Regions from separate parts of the Homo sapiens genome. Here region 1 is linked to region 2. Evidence: promoter capture Hi-C in 16 types of primary human blood cells and fetal thymus (Javierre and others, 2016). All regions are on one chromosome and are shown on one strand. Each heading gives the region's core, a stretch centred on a gene start or on the middle of the fragment in contact. The rest is flanking DNA. Distances are from core to core; before and after follow the strand shown.

Region 1 (7,404 bases), core at 4,634-7,133, 310 kb before region 2:
ACCCAGTTTGGTGCCCACTTTAAAATAACTCATATGGCAGAACAGATACAAGGTGAGCATCCCCACTCCGAAGTGCTCGAAAATCTGGGACTTTTTGAGTGCTTGCATGATGCTCAAAGAAAATGCTCACTGAAGCATTTTGGACTTGCCAATTAGAAATGCTCAACTGGTAAGTATAATGCAAACATTCCAAAATCTGAAACGCTTGGGGCTTCTGTATTTGTAATGCCTGTACTATACTGTATTTGTAATGCCATTTATTGACTTTTCATCAGTATCTTTTAGTAAAGATGCCATCATTCCAACTGCTTATTTCTTATGGTAGTTCGTCATTTCCTTAAGTTTCTGAGTATCAGTAGAGTATGTATCCACCCAGGTTAATCTACAATATGATACCAATTATCTTCAAGTCTCATAATATAGCATGCTTCTACCATAATTGTTTAAATTACCAGACACTCTCTAACTGAACAGCAACACTGTCTAAGCATATAAACAGATGCTAAACACTAGGGATTTCTAACTCCTATTATCAATGTAATGCTGATAGATTTCAGCTCCACAAGTGAAACATAAATATAACTGTCTTAAAGACTAAAATCAGCGGCCAAGGACCACCTTTCAGAGTTGTAAAAAACTCCTGTTATTCTTTCATACAACAATTAGCTTTGTTAATAATGCAACTCAGTAAGAGTTAGTTATAATGGTGTCTTAGATCTGTACAGTACTGAATGTTAACTTCAAGCTAACTGTAACTTTGTAGATTAAAAAGAGAAAAGGAACTCATAGGGGCAGGAAACCTTTTAAAAGCATTATTTTGTACTGTTGACTGCTTTCTTTTAGACAAGTTAATGTGAGCAGGGAAATAAGTGGTGGACATGGGTCCTGAGTGCAACTCTAGATGCTGATTTCTAAACAAGAAGCTAGCATTAACCACAACAAAACCACAAAATAGCTCCTCCATGATGATGTTGAAACATTCATAGCTATGTATTATTTCTGTCATCATTGTTGGAGGTTGGCGATGTCTGTCCTGTATCAATTTTCAGCAAGTAAAAATCTCCATCTAGTCGCCAGGCACGGTGGCTCACGCCTGTAATCCCAGCACTTTGGGAGGCTGAGGTGGGTGGATCACCTGAGGTCAGGAGCTCGAGACCAGCCTGGCCAACATGGTGAAACCCTGTTGCTACTAAAAATACAAAATGAGCCGGGCGTGGTGGCGGGCGCCTGTAATCCCAGCTACTCGGGAGACTGAGGCAGGAGAATCATTGAACCCAGGAGGCAGAGGATGCAGTGAGCCAAGATTGCGCCATTGCACTCCAGCCTGGGCAACCAGAGTGAAACTTTGTCTCAAAAAAAAAAAAAAAAATCTCCATCTATTGGGAACCACTACACTGTGCTAAAAAGGCACTGTTCCACGTAGTGGAAATGTAACAGTAAGTAAAACATAAATTATGTTAAGTTACATATCCTTACATCTATTCCAAATAATTCACAGTTGATTAAATAGCATTTTAATTTGTACTGCATATTTAATTTATTGTTTGAACAATCATCTAATAGCTTTATTGGGCAACTAGCAGCTTTAAATTATTTTTCCTTTAACATTAGTAGTAACATTAGATTCTACATGCTATATACTAAATTAAAAAAATTAAAATTAGGAGTAGCAAACATCCTCTAAAACAGCATTTAAATTAGATATTAACAGACCTTTAGGAACTAAAATAACTGTCTTCCTCCACCTCTAAGGCTTCATATACAGAAAGAAATGAAGTTGAAACCCGAGTCCTTGAAAATTGATGTTATCGATATTTGACTTACATAGAAAAGTAAGTTATTTAAGTAGTTTTTAGGTTAAGAATACTTGTACTAAAGCATTAAAAAAGAAAATAAAACTATATCCTACCGATTTCTGATTCAATTCATCACTAAGCAATTCATATTCCTTAGTTTTGTCTTCAACTTCCTGAGACTTCTGATCATAATTGACAGCAAGTTCTTCTAGGGCCTGTAAAACTTCTTTCACTTCTTCTTTAGAGGCATCATTTTCTGCTTGAAGGCGATTCAGCTCAGCTTGCATATTGTCTTGATCCCTTCTGGTAGATGCCAAAAGCTATAGGACAGAAAATAATTTATTTTCCCCAAAAGTATACAGGTTTTAAAAAACACCCATGAAGCTTCACCATTTGTCAAGAACAAATGGAGTGAAATATGGATGGTATTCAGTGTGGCAACATTTATTCATTAAACAGATTTACTAAATGTCAACTATGTGCAGGCACTGTGCTGGATGCTGCAAGGCAGAAAGAAAATCAAAGACTGTGTTTAAGGAACACAGTAGAAGAGAAGATAGGCACATGAATAAGTGCAGTACAAGATAGAAGGTCAGAACCATAAGAGAGGGACAGGACAGATAAAGTGCTTAGTAATACAGGAAAGAGTATTCATTCATGGAGAAGTTGGCTAGGAGAGATCGACTGCAGTCACATGCAAATTAATGTAATAAAGGAAAATGGCATTCTACAAGAGTTGCTTAAAAATTTAGATTTGGGCCAGGCGGGGTGGCTCACGCCTGTAATCCCAGCATTTTGGGAGGCCGAGGCGGGCGGATCACAAGGTCAGGAGTTTGAGACCAGCCTGACCAACATGGTGAAATCCCGTCTCTACTAAAAATACCAAAAAATTAGCCAGGCGTGGTGGCGGGCGCCTGTAATCCCAGCTACTCGGGAGGCTGAGGCAGAAGAGTCGCTTGAACCTGGGAGGTGGAGGTTGCAGTGAGCCAAGATCACGCCGCTGCACTCCAGCCTGGGGAACAAGAGCAAGACTTCGCCTCAAAAACAAAAACAAAACCTGGTATCAGCACATAAAATCTGAACTGCAGGGATGCCAAGAGACTAGTTAGGAGAAAACCACAATCATCCACATTAGTGGCTCTCCTGTAGGGATATCCGGAAATCTGTGGGAGTGTTAATAATAGGGTAGAATGCTAATGGCATTTAGGAGTAGGGACCAGGAATGTTTAATGTCCTATAATACAAAGGACAGAATAACATAAATTATCCAATGCAAAATATCAATAGTGCCCCTTTGAGGAATAATGCTATAGTTGAAATATGAAATGCTATAGTTGAAAGATGATCTGACCAGGATTAAGTTCACTGATGGAGAGTATCTCTTTCTTACCGAAGCAGTCTTTGTCTTCACCCTGCCCACCACCCCCACAAAAAAATTTAAAGGACTGCTTTTCAATTATCCCCCTGCTCTGCTGGGTGAGAAGATAAAATGAGGATCCAAAGTAAGTGACAAGAAGAGAAATGTCAAGAACCAGGGTGAAAAAAAAGATGGCGGAAATGAACAACAGATTGTATCTGGGTAGATACGATGAATAAGTAAAAATTCACTTTATCCATGTGACATTCTTATTCCCACAAAGACAGTCATACCCAAAATTATACAACTATTAAAGACAAAGTCAATGGGATTCAGAAAACAAAACTATAAAGCTTTTCTGGAAGCAATGTAAAAGGTATTCAACTCACCTCCTCCTGATCCAACATTTGCGTCTTCAGTTTCTCTACCAGTTGACTTTGCTGGTTAATTTCTTCATCCTAGAATTGTGAAGTATCCGGTTAACCAGTAGCTAACAACCTGGTTCTAGTTGTTTCCCAATACAGGTTATAAGATTACTACTCCCCAGAAATATTTCAAAACCATTTCTCTAAATTCAACATTGCTTATTTTAATCTCTTTTAAGAAAATGGCAAAACAAAAGGAATTTCTTTCAATTATCAATACTTATAATGGTCATGTACTTCGAACCTGCCATCTCTGCTTAAAATATATTAAAAATATCAACTTAAGAAAATATTTTCTTCTAATCTCTTTACTACTCTTGTTCTTGCCTTCCATTCTATTACGTTCTTAGTTTGCTATTATTCATACTATTGACATTACTTCTATATGCAAAGCAGGAAGATATTATTTCCACTCTATTGTGTTTCCCTTAATCTCTCACATCATCTTTTATTGGAGTCTTCAGAGCCCTGATTCTAACAATTGGTATCATTGAGGCTCCCAATGACCCAATGCCAAATTTTCATTAGAACAGGGGTCCCCAAGCCCCCAGGCCACAAAGCAGTACTGGAAGCCTGTTAGGAACCAAGAAGCACAGCAGGAGGTGAGCAGCAAGCATTACCACTTGAGCTCCGCCTTCTGCCAGATCAGCAGCATTAGAATATCATTAAGAGCGCGAACTCTATTATCAGCTGTGCATGCAAGAGATCTAGGTTAGAGGATCCTTATGAGAATCTAATGCCTGATAATCCAAGGTGGAAGTTTCATCCCAAAACCATCTCCCCGACCTGATCCACGGAAAAACTGTCTTCCCTGAAACCAGTCCCTGGTGCCAAAAAGGTTGGGGACTGCTGCCTTATAAAGTTCTTTTAGCTTAAAAAGAGGGGGAAGAAAAGATACATGCTCATACAGTTTCCACACAGAAATTGAAATTATGACTTTTTATTTTGTTAATACAATAATTTTTACAAGATTAACAGAAATCAAGGAAGATGCATAAAGATCCTAAGTGCCCACAGCACTGAAATGAGAAAAGTTAGAAAATAAAAACACCCATGTCAATAGTATCCTAATATAAAGCAGACCTAAATCAAGCAATACCTACCTTGTCATCAAGCTGTTTGTATAATTTAGCAATTTCTTCTTCACACTTTCTTCTTTCAGCATCAGTAAAATTTCCTATAACTCCAATTGCGGTTGCTGGTTTATCATTGGTAAGAGTAATATCTTTATCCACTGTGAAAGCTTCCAAGTTGGCTTTCTCTTTGTCAAACTGTTCATCAATAGGCACCGTCTCCCCTAAAATAAGAAAATAAAGTGGTTAATAAAAAAACGACGTCTAAAGCTAATTTCAATTTCATTCCTTTAAAAATTTTTTTTTTTTTTTTTGAGACAGAGTCTCAATCTGTCACCCTGGCTGGAGTGCAGTGGTGCAATCTAGGCTCACTGCAACCTCTGCCTCCAGGGTTCAAGCAATTCTACTGCCTCAAGACTCCTGATTAGCTGGGATTACAGGCGCTCAGCACCATGCCAGGCTAATTTTGGTGTTTTCAGTAGAGATGGGGTTTCAACATGTTGGCCAGGCTGGTCTCTAACTCCTGACCTCAAGTGATCTGCCCACCTTGGCCTCCCAAAGTGCTAGGATTACAGGCATGAGCCAGTGCACCCAGCCTCGTTCTTTCAAACTTTTTCTTCTCTGTGTTATTTTCAAATAATCTGTCTTCAAGTTCAGATTCTTCTGCTTAATTAATTCTACTACTGATGGTCTCTTGCATTTTGCTCATTTTATTTTTCAGCTCCAGGATTTCTATTAATTTTTTTAAAAATTATTTCGATGTCTATTAAATTTCTTGATCTAGTCACTTACTGATTTTGCTGAACTATTTCTACGTTTCTATGCTCTAAATCTGTATTTAACAAACTGAAGATGACAAATTCTTAAGTTATTACCATTACGCCATCTGTTGAGCTCATTTTCAAGCCACTGAATAGTGTTCCGCAGGATCTTATTTTTTTCTTTTTCTTTTTCATACTTCTTTTTCCACTGTTCTGCAGTTAACTCCACATTGACACAAACTGTGTTCTTAATTGTTTTGGCCCTAAGAGATGTAATTGGAGGAAAAAAAGGATGAGACTGAAATTATTTTTAATTTTATCTATATGGAATATATGTATATATGGCTAAGAAACTTATGCTTGTCCAGTAATCTCTTAGACTAAATACTAAAAGCCGCAACATATGACGTTATTTACAACTCAACTAAATTTGAGTCTGCTCCAAAATCTGTGAATAGCTTTAAAAAAAAAAAAATCAACAAACCACTAAAAATAAAAGACAAAGGCCTATATTTTTCCAATTTGTTTGCAAGGCTGAATTAAGAAATTACTGTTGAAAGTCAAAGACGGAATCATCATTACTGATTTTCCTAATCATCTCATACAGATTATATTAACCTGTCATGCATGTCTACAGGCTTAACAGAGGATTATGTTTGCCAGGCTTTGACCTCATTATTTGATTCAAATGCTTATTTTCTTTAATACCAAATTACAGCTTGTCACACAAATTTGACTAAAATTACATCTGACTTTAATGTGTACTAAAACTTAAACCAAGCAGTCTAAAAATCAGACCCACCTTGTATTATCTGTCATCAATTCAAACTGAGTGTGTCTAGCACAAAACAGTATGTACAGGTTGGAATAACAGCTCACATTTTCCTACATTTTATAAACAAAAGGTCTATCTAAATTTAGGTTTTGTACTTTCTTAACAACAAACCTTTGGCCAAATAAGAGTGTAGATTTTGTTTCAGACTCATTGTATGATGATGGAGAGCAGCAAATTACAATAGTGGTTCTACAGTTGCCACCTAATGAATCTTGAAGGATTCTTGTCATTTTACTATCTCGATATGGAACATATGTCTGCATACAAAAACAAAGAAAGAAAACAAGACCAGTATAATAAAATGTTATTATAAAATAAACTCCCAAAAGACAACTAACTTACACATACTGATTCAAACACATTGAATCTCAATCTCTCTTTCTCTCTCTCTCTCTCATACACACCCAGGCACACATATACACCTATATTTAAATAATGCCCCATAAGGTAACAGGGAGATAGAAGACATGTATACTCACACTACCCTCAGCCAAAGCAGAAATAACATTTCCAAGAGCAGAAAGTGACTTGTTGATGTTTTTAGCTTCATCCAGCACAGCACCTTCAGCTCCAGTTTTACTAACCTATACATAAGATTTCAAAAGAATGAAACAAAATTACAAGTTTATAATTTTCTTTACATTTTCTAAAATGTTCATATGTCATCAATAACCAGTAAAAAAGAAAAAAGAACATGAAAAGCTTCATGATCTTATTTGCCAAGCATACCACCATTTCTTGAGTACTACTCTTAAGAGTTTGATTAGAGAGACATCAAATTTTATCTGTAGTTTGTAGGTACTCTTGAAAATAACCAATTTAAATGTAAATTTGTAGTTCATTAATCTGTTAGTCCCCTTTGCTACATTAGAAAACAGGAACCTTCTAAAATTGGCTAATGCATAATGTTGATGTTGTAACTGTTAGAAAACAGAGACTGAGTTTTAAACACATTATATAAGCAAATCTGCTTCTTTTAAAAATATATAAAATATCTAAATATCTATGTTGTGGTGTTTTTTTTTTGGAGACTGAGTCTCACTCTGTCACCCAGGCTGGAGTGCAGTGGCTTGATCCCAGCTCACTGCAACCTCCGCTTCCCGGGTTCAACCAATTCTCCTGCCTCAGCCTCCCCAGTAGCTGGTATTACGGGCATG
Region 2 (7,013 bases), core at 3,738-6,237:
TTTGCTTCTACTATAATTGAGATTTCATGTATTTCTCTTCACTTCCAAGAGAGTGGATAGAATGGAGAAATCTAGATTGATCTTTACAGCTCCAGATAAAGGGACTAAAAATATTGGTTTAAAATATTAAAGGTTAAAGAAAGAGACTGTTGGTTTCTTTCAAAGTGATTTAAATTTAAACTAGGTTTTTATTACTAAGTTTTGGAAATGGGGTAACCATTTTTTTCTCATATCAAGGATATGTACATATTTCCCATTTCCCCATAATTAAAAACAAACAACTCCCATCCACTTCTTATAAATAGTTCTTAACTTGGGCTTAGTAACAATGTATATTGTGCCAGTAATACAGAAAAGGTGGGAGTATAAAGACCATCCTGTCCTGTTAGAATCCTATAGAACCAAGGTGCTGGATTATGGTGGTTAGATCCTACTTGTAACAGTTTCAAAGGTGACTGTAGGGTAGTATCAATATGAAAACATCATTAACATCTTAATTACACCAAATCTCCTCCCCAAACCAGTCTAGGTAACAGGAGAGGAAAGGTTAAGTTGCCACCCCCTCATAAATGGAACAACGCACCCTAGACAACCCAATGAAAAGTTAAACTACTGTGGAACAGTAGCTCCATTTTGCTAAACATCATTTTAAAATCGACTTTTTAAAAGTGATGTTTCCATAAAGGAGAATTGTTAACAACATAAAGCTCCAATTTTAATCAAGAGTCAATTTTAATAAAAAGATTTGATAGTATTAATCCATTTGGTAAGTTTAACCTTTCAATAGAATGCGAAGCCGTAGCACAAGATTTAAGATTATAAAGATAATTAAATTATAATCTTAAAGTTAACATTGTAAAATATTCATAATAGGACATATGCCCCACACCAACCAAGCACTTGTTTAAACTTTTATCTTTTTTTAAACCCCAAAGGGACTCAATTATCTCAGAGCTGAAAGTCTATTATTTCGCTGTGATTTAAGTCACATCTGTACTTCATTAAATACATTGTTTTCATCATCCGTTACTTTATTTTTAATTAAATTATTTTTTCTGAAACGAGTTTCGCTCTTCTTGCACAGGCTGTGAGTGCAGTGGGGGGATCTCAGCTCTCTGCAACTTCCACCTCCCGGGTTCAAGCGATTCTCCTGCCTCAGCCTCCCGAATAGCTGGGATTACAGGCAGCTGCCACCACGGCTGGCTAATTTTTGTATTTTTAGTAGAGACAGGGTTTCACCATGTTGGCCAGGCTGGTCTCGAACTCCTGACCTCAGGTGATCCACCCGCCTCGGCCTCCCAAAGTGCTGGGATTACAGGCGTGAGCCACCGCATCCTGCCAATCTGTTACTTTCAGACTTAGCAAATTTCGATGCATTACATTCTGCGAATTCACATTTAATCTCTAACATCTTTGACCCAGTCAAATCCTTCAATTTACCACAATCTGAAGTTACTTTTTCAGTACTACTACAATTAAAAAAATAGATAAGTTCAGTAACATTTTCTGCCTCCAAATTATTTTGGGGGGGGGGTGTAAGGGCTTCTACTTAAAGTTGTTTCTTAAAAAGTCTGCCTCGTTAGGCCCGTGTGTGCAGCTCATAGTATTAAAACTGGTTAAATGGGAATACACGAATAATACTTATTTTCCCAATGTTAAAAGACCTGGATTTCTGTCAAGTATATCCAGAAACAACGTAACAATTACTAGGTGTATTTCACATGACAATTCTGCAGATTATTTTGATCAATAAAATGCTTTAATCAGGTGGTGTATAAAAAAACTGCCCTCACCTTTCAGGACCAACATAGGACTACATACTTTTTTTTCTAAGACAGTCAGTTCAGGTTCTAGGTTACAGTGACCTAATAAGATAACAAATAACTAATGTGTCAGTTAAAGGCAGAAGTTTGCTTTAACCCTTCCTCTTTATTAGAAGTACAAAATACTTCCGCACATCAAAAAGTTTGTTTTTCTATGGAGAATCCAGAATTCAATTACCTTTATGTTTAATATACCTTTTCAACACTGCATAACACACTACTTTCAATATTATGATTTACACACCCTACCACTAACAGCATGAACCACAGGACTGTAAAGCAGCTTGTTTACCAGGTACTTTTTACATTCTTCCATTAGGTTCAGTGTCTATTCTTGAGGTCTATGCTTCTCTCCTCATACATAGCTTTGGTTGGATGTGAAGTGAAAAATTCTAAACAGATATTTGGAAAAGGCAATCTGAAGAAAAAAAAAAATCCCTGTGTTTCAAAATTAGGGACTCCACATGTTACAAACTATTGATAGCCACTGCAGTATAAAATGTCAAAATTGGCCGGGCGCGGTGGCTCATGCCTGTAATCCCAGCACTTTGGGAGGTCGAGGCGGGCGGATCACCTGAGGTCAGGAGTTCAAAACCAGTCTGGCCAACATGGCAAAACCCCGTCTCTGTTAAAAGTATAAAAATCGGCCGGGCGCGGTGGCAAGCGCCTATAATCCCAGCTACTGGGGAGGCTGAGGAAGGAGAATCACTTGAACTCGGGAGGCGGAGGGTTGTAGTGAGCCGAGATGCTGCCACTGCACTCCAGCCTGGGCAACAGAGTGAGACTCCATCTCAGAAAAGAAAAGAAGAAAAATCTAAATTATTTCAGCGAATAAAAATTACCCGTAAAATTTAACAAGCACTGATACTTCATTGAGCTCAGCTCTGACTTCAGGTTGTAACTCTTGGGACTGTCCAAAGTATTCACAGAAGCAAGACTTAACTAAAGTCTAAAGTGTACTGTTGTGCTGTCTTGCTTTAATCAAGGCTTTCCCCTTCCTTGGCTGCTGAACAAGAATTACAAATTAATTTCCAGGGCAGGGTAAAACCAACACCCCAATACTTGAAAGTATTATCTGTAAAACTTAGAAATAAAAATAAAACCAAAAGACAAGATTCTGCAGTCACAAGTACTTTAATTTTTAAAAACAAATCACTTATTAAAAAATAAACAAATGGCCATGCTACTCTAAAGTTGATACAAGTAAAATAAATTAAGAGGTAGTGTCTCATGAGACAATGTGCTGAAAGTCAGTGCCCAACTAGACAATCTGAGCTACTACATACACTTGGCTTATCTGTAAAGTTAGATTTAAGACACTACTCTCAAAAGTAACATTTCACTGTCACAGCTATTTCACTTTAAAAGGTTAAACAACCCAAAGAGTTTAAACAGTTTTATTTCCAAAAACAACATTACAGAGCATAATTTCTACATTAAAAATTCTTACAGTACCAAGAGAAGTATTACAGTACAATTTTCCACAACAAAATTGTAGCACACAAATCCACGCGACTCCTGGACTTCCTTGAACTGTCAATACACTGCACCCTGTTTAAATGGCTGTACCTGAAAACCAAGGTATGCAATTCCTTAGGATTAGAAGTCATCAAGTTATACTGTCAAGGATCTGGGGGAAATGAGAGGAAGATTCTATTATCCTGGTGTCCGAACCCAACTTCCACAACAAGGTAAAGCCACAGCGATGGTAAAATGTCTATTAGTTGTCAACATTTACGTGCTGAAACCCACCCAATTTAGACATCTCAATATTAAGATTTCTGTGAATCAAGTCACTTAGTTTTAGTTCGGTTTTGAATAAGAAAGGATCCTCCTTCGAAATTTAGATCTATAAAAGTTACTTAAATTGGGTCTTTTCTCCCCCTATGTTGAGATACCAGAGAGCAGGAGAACTTAAATTTATTTTACAAATAGGTAAGGTTACAGGCTTCAGAAGAGAGAGGTACTCCAAACAAATCTGCAAGATATTCGCAAGGATCACAGAAAAAGTCAGGGATAGTGGTTTATTATCCTCCGACCAACTAGCTCTGGAGAGGGATGGATACAAACGTCCCAGAAAGAGGACACTGAAAGTAAGTCTTATCTTCTAGAAAAGTAAGTCGTCCGGGCAAACACGCTGCACCCTCGACATTTCCTTGCAGAGGGGGAGAAAAGCCTCATAGAGCAGCAGGCGACATGACATGCCCGTCTGAGGCTCCACGTGGGGGCTGCACTGAGCCCAACAAGCTTCCCAGACCATGGGGCAATCAAATTCCCCGACTGTGCACAGAACCTGCGCTCCCGGCCCGGGCAGCGGCGCGCAGGCCGCAGTGGCCCTGGAGCGCCACCCAGCGGCCCACGGAGAGGCCTGTAGGCGGGTCCTCCACGGCTCCCGACTCGCCGCACCCCCACAGCCACCCAGCCCGTTCCCCTCTCCGGATGCACAAGGCCCAACCCAAGAACTAAGACACAAAATGGCTGCCGGCAGCTTCGTCACGTGACCCCTTTGTGCCTTTCGGGCCCCCGAACTCCGCGGGACCCGGGTACAAGTGGCCAGGGTCAGCGGGTGGCCTTAGAAGGGGCCCCGCTGGGCCGCGGCGGCCGGGGGTCGAGGCTGGGGGAGGCGGGGTATAGGCCCGGCCGGCGACTGAGAGTCGGCGGCGAAGAGAAGATGGCGGCCATTTTGTGTGGGTTTGCTGCTCCGCCGCCGCCGCAGGCAGCAGAGGGAGCGGGCCTGACGGTGGGTCGGACAGGGGAGTTAACACGTACCGACTCCTCTTCCTTCTCCATTCCGGTGGGCATCTGCGGCACGGCCCTGTTTATCGAGGCGTATTCGTGCAGGTCGGGCAGATCCTCACAGCGGAAAACCGGCAGCGGCTTCGAGGCGTCTAGCGCCCGCGCCCGAAACGACAGTTTACTCATCTCAGGCGCAGCAGATACCTCTCCGCTCTGGGGAAACGGCCCCGGCCAGCGGGATCATGGAGAACCGGGGGTTCGGTCCCCACTCGCCAACCGCTGCCGGGGACTTGAGGGGCGGAGCGCAGAGCCCGCCGTCCGGGCACTAACACCAGCCGGGAGGGTGGGAGGCTGTGCCGCTCCGCTCCTCTCTCGCTCGCTCTCTTCAATACGCCATGGCCAACATGGCGGACATTAAAACTCCACTGTGCGCTCTTCAGCCAACCCCAGCCATTCCCCACACTGCATCGCGCAGCGGCGCGGGCACGCGGGCGGGGGGAGGGAGCGCGGGCTCGAGGCCGGCGCCGGCACGAAGCGCGCGTCCCGCCAACCCCCGGCACCCGCCGGCCTCGCTTCCCGCGCCTCGCTGCTCCGGGCCCCCGCCCTTCGCGGGTCCGGGGGCGGACAGGGCGGACTGGGCGCTCGGACACCGGGCGCCGGCTCTTGGGTCGTGCTCTCCTGCAGCGCACACGCTCACTTTCTCACGCTCGCTCCCTCCCGGCGCCGCTTTCTGACGGGCGAACAAGGTGCGGGAAAACTCTCTCCACCAGCACGCCGCCGTTTGGAAAGGCAGCTGGGGAGAGTGGCAGGCGGGGCTCGGGCCCCGGGCACCTGGGGCTCGGAGGGCTCGGACCTCTGGGGTGCTCGCCAGCGGCTGCCCCGGGGCCACGGCCGCCCCCACGGGGCTTCGGAGGGGCGCTCCAGAGGCGCCGCGCGCCGCCGTCTGCCGCGGGGGGCGAACGCACAGCCTAGTTCCCGCGGCGCCTTAGGTCTTTACGATAAAAATACAAACTGAATTAGGGGCAGATGCTACTTTGAGTAAACTTTTATCAGCAGTTATTTTTATGTCCTAATGCAACTTTGGATTATAATGTTTTATAGGCACCGCATCAAGTCATTGATCCGTTTCCCACGCATTGGGCTTAATATAAATGATAGGTATCCTATTCTACAAAGTAGATTTTTTTAAATCCTGCATTTTCATCTACACATATTTACTTTTTAAATAGTAACTGAAGCAAAGGAAATTATTACCCACCACTATAACATTTAAAAGCAAGATCTACTTCAGAATTTAAAGCCAGTTCTTTATATCTAGCTCATGATTCTGTACTCAAAGAGACTGCGGCTTCATCATAGCCGTGGGTTCACACTTTCATCATTTGTCCTCTGAAAAACTTTGTAACATTGAATCATATAAAGACCTGTCGTACTCCCGCCAAACAAAAAGCTGAATTATTAGATTTAGATGGATATGATAGATGGGTGGCATCGGTTTATATTACACATGAAAATGGGTATCCTGAGATCTCTTCGTTGTTGTTGTTGTTAATAGGGAAGATTGTTGGGGTGGGTTTAATAAATTGGCAGCCAAATTTCAATTCGAGTTTCAATTTGTATCTTAGTGCACAATTTTGTATCTTGTGCAACAAGATACAAAAAGATACAAAAATGTTTTGAGTTGCTTTTCTCCCTGGGAACTACGTAGTAAAAGTAATCACGCTCCTTAAATACTGGGCTTGATATGAGCTGTCACTAGCTTAGGGCACACAGGCAAACTGCTAGCCTCCAGGCTGGTTTAGCCAGCTCCCGCGGGGTAGGGAGAAAACAGGACGGATTGCAGTTCTCCAAAATTATACTTAAACTCCGATATTGGCAGCTCACTTAAGTGAGGCATAAGGACGTTCACCTGCATTTCCTACACAGAGACCGTGCCTTTATTCATTCAATGAGTATTGAGGGTGTGTATTGAGCCCTCATAGCCTTCCAAGTCAGCTTGGCACCCACAGGGCTCCTGGAGGAGCTTACACAGTGGGGAGAAGGACCCGCGAATGGCAACTGCCACACGGCGAGCTAAGTGTTATGGTGGAAGCCCAGGCCACTGTGGGAAGGGGCAAGAGTGGCGCCCAACCCAGGAGAGTAGTTCTAATGAAGTAGCAAGGGAAGACTTTTTGGAAGAGATGATATCTGAGTAAAATTATGTAGGATAAGTGTGGGTTAACTTTGCAAAAAAAGTAAAAATGAAGGGAAGAAAGGTATCTTAAGACAACGGTAGCGACGTATCCACAAGCTGAGTCATTAGATAGCAGTCACTTTCTGGGAGCCTCAAGAATTGCCAACTTCACTGTGGAATGACACCTGTTTAGCCAGGTTTAACAGTTCCGAAAATACTGGCTGAATATTATTCTGACAGCCCTCTCCAGCCTACAACATTAGGTTCCTGAAAGTCCTAGC

What was found. The method cuts DNA at HindIII sites, captures the fragments that hold promoters and counts their contacts. A CHiCAGO score of 5 or more calls a contact.
Region 1: a contact is called between a fragment that was not itself captured here and the fragment with the promoter of EPC1 in region 2, in 1 of 17 cell types (erythroblasts). The highest score is 5.9, in erythroblasts.

What each region holds. Positions count from the first base shown.
Region 1 is chr10:32,029,164-32,036,567 of GRCh38, forward strand. KIF5B (kinesin family member 5B) reads right to left here. Exons shown (of 26, transcript NM_004521.3): 9 at 6,727-6,831; 10 at 6,359-6,504; 11 at 5,527-5,675; 12 at 4,682-4,875; 13 at 3,543-3,611; 14 at 1,910-2,116. Among named protein-coding and RNA genes, the nearest start is that of KIF5B, 24 kb to the right of the region's middle. The HindIII fragment of the contact is 2,128 bases long and covers 4,820-6,947 here.
Region 2 is chr10:32,342,171-32,349,183 of GRCh38, forward strand. It overlaps EPC1 (enhancer of polycomb 1), which reads right to left and starts at 4,988. Exons shown (of 14, transcript NM_001272004.3): 1 at 4,593-4,988. The coding sequence starts at 4,745. EPC1-AS1 (EPC1 antisense RNA 1) reads left to right here and starts at 5,194. Exons shown (of 2, transcript NR_104163.1): 1 at 5,194-5,305. RefSeq lists silencers at 4,019-4,298, 4,969-5,438, 5,449-5,578 and enhancers at 4,519-4,618, 4,639-4,698. The HindIII fragment of the contact is 3,163 bases long and covers 4,069-7,013 here.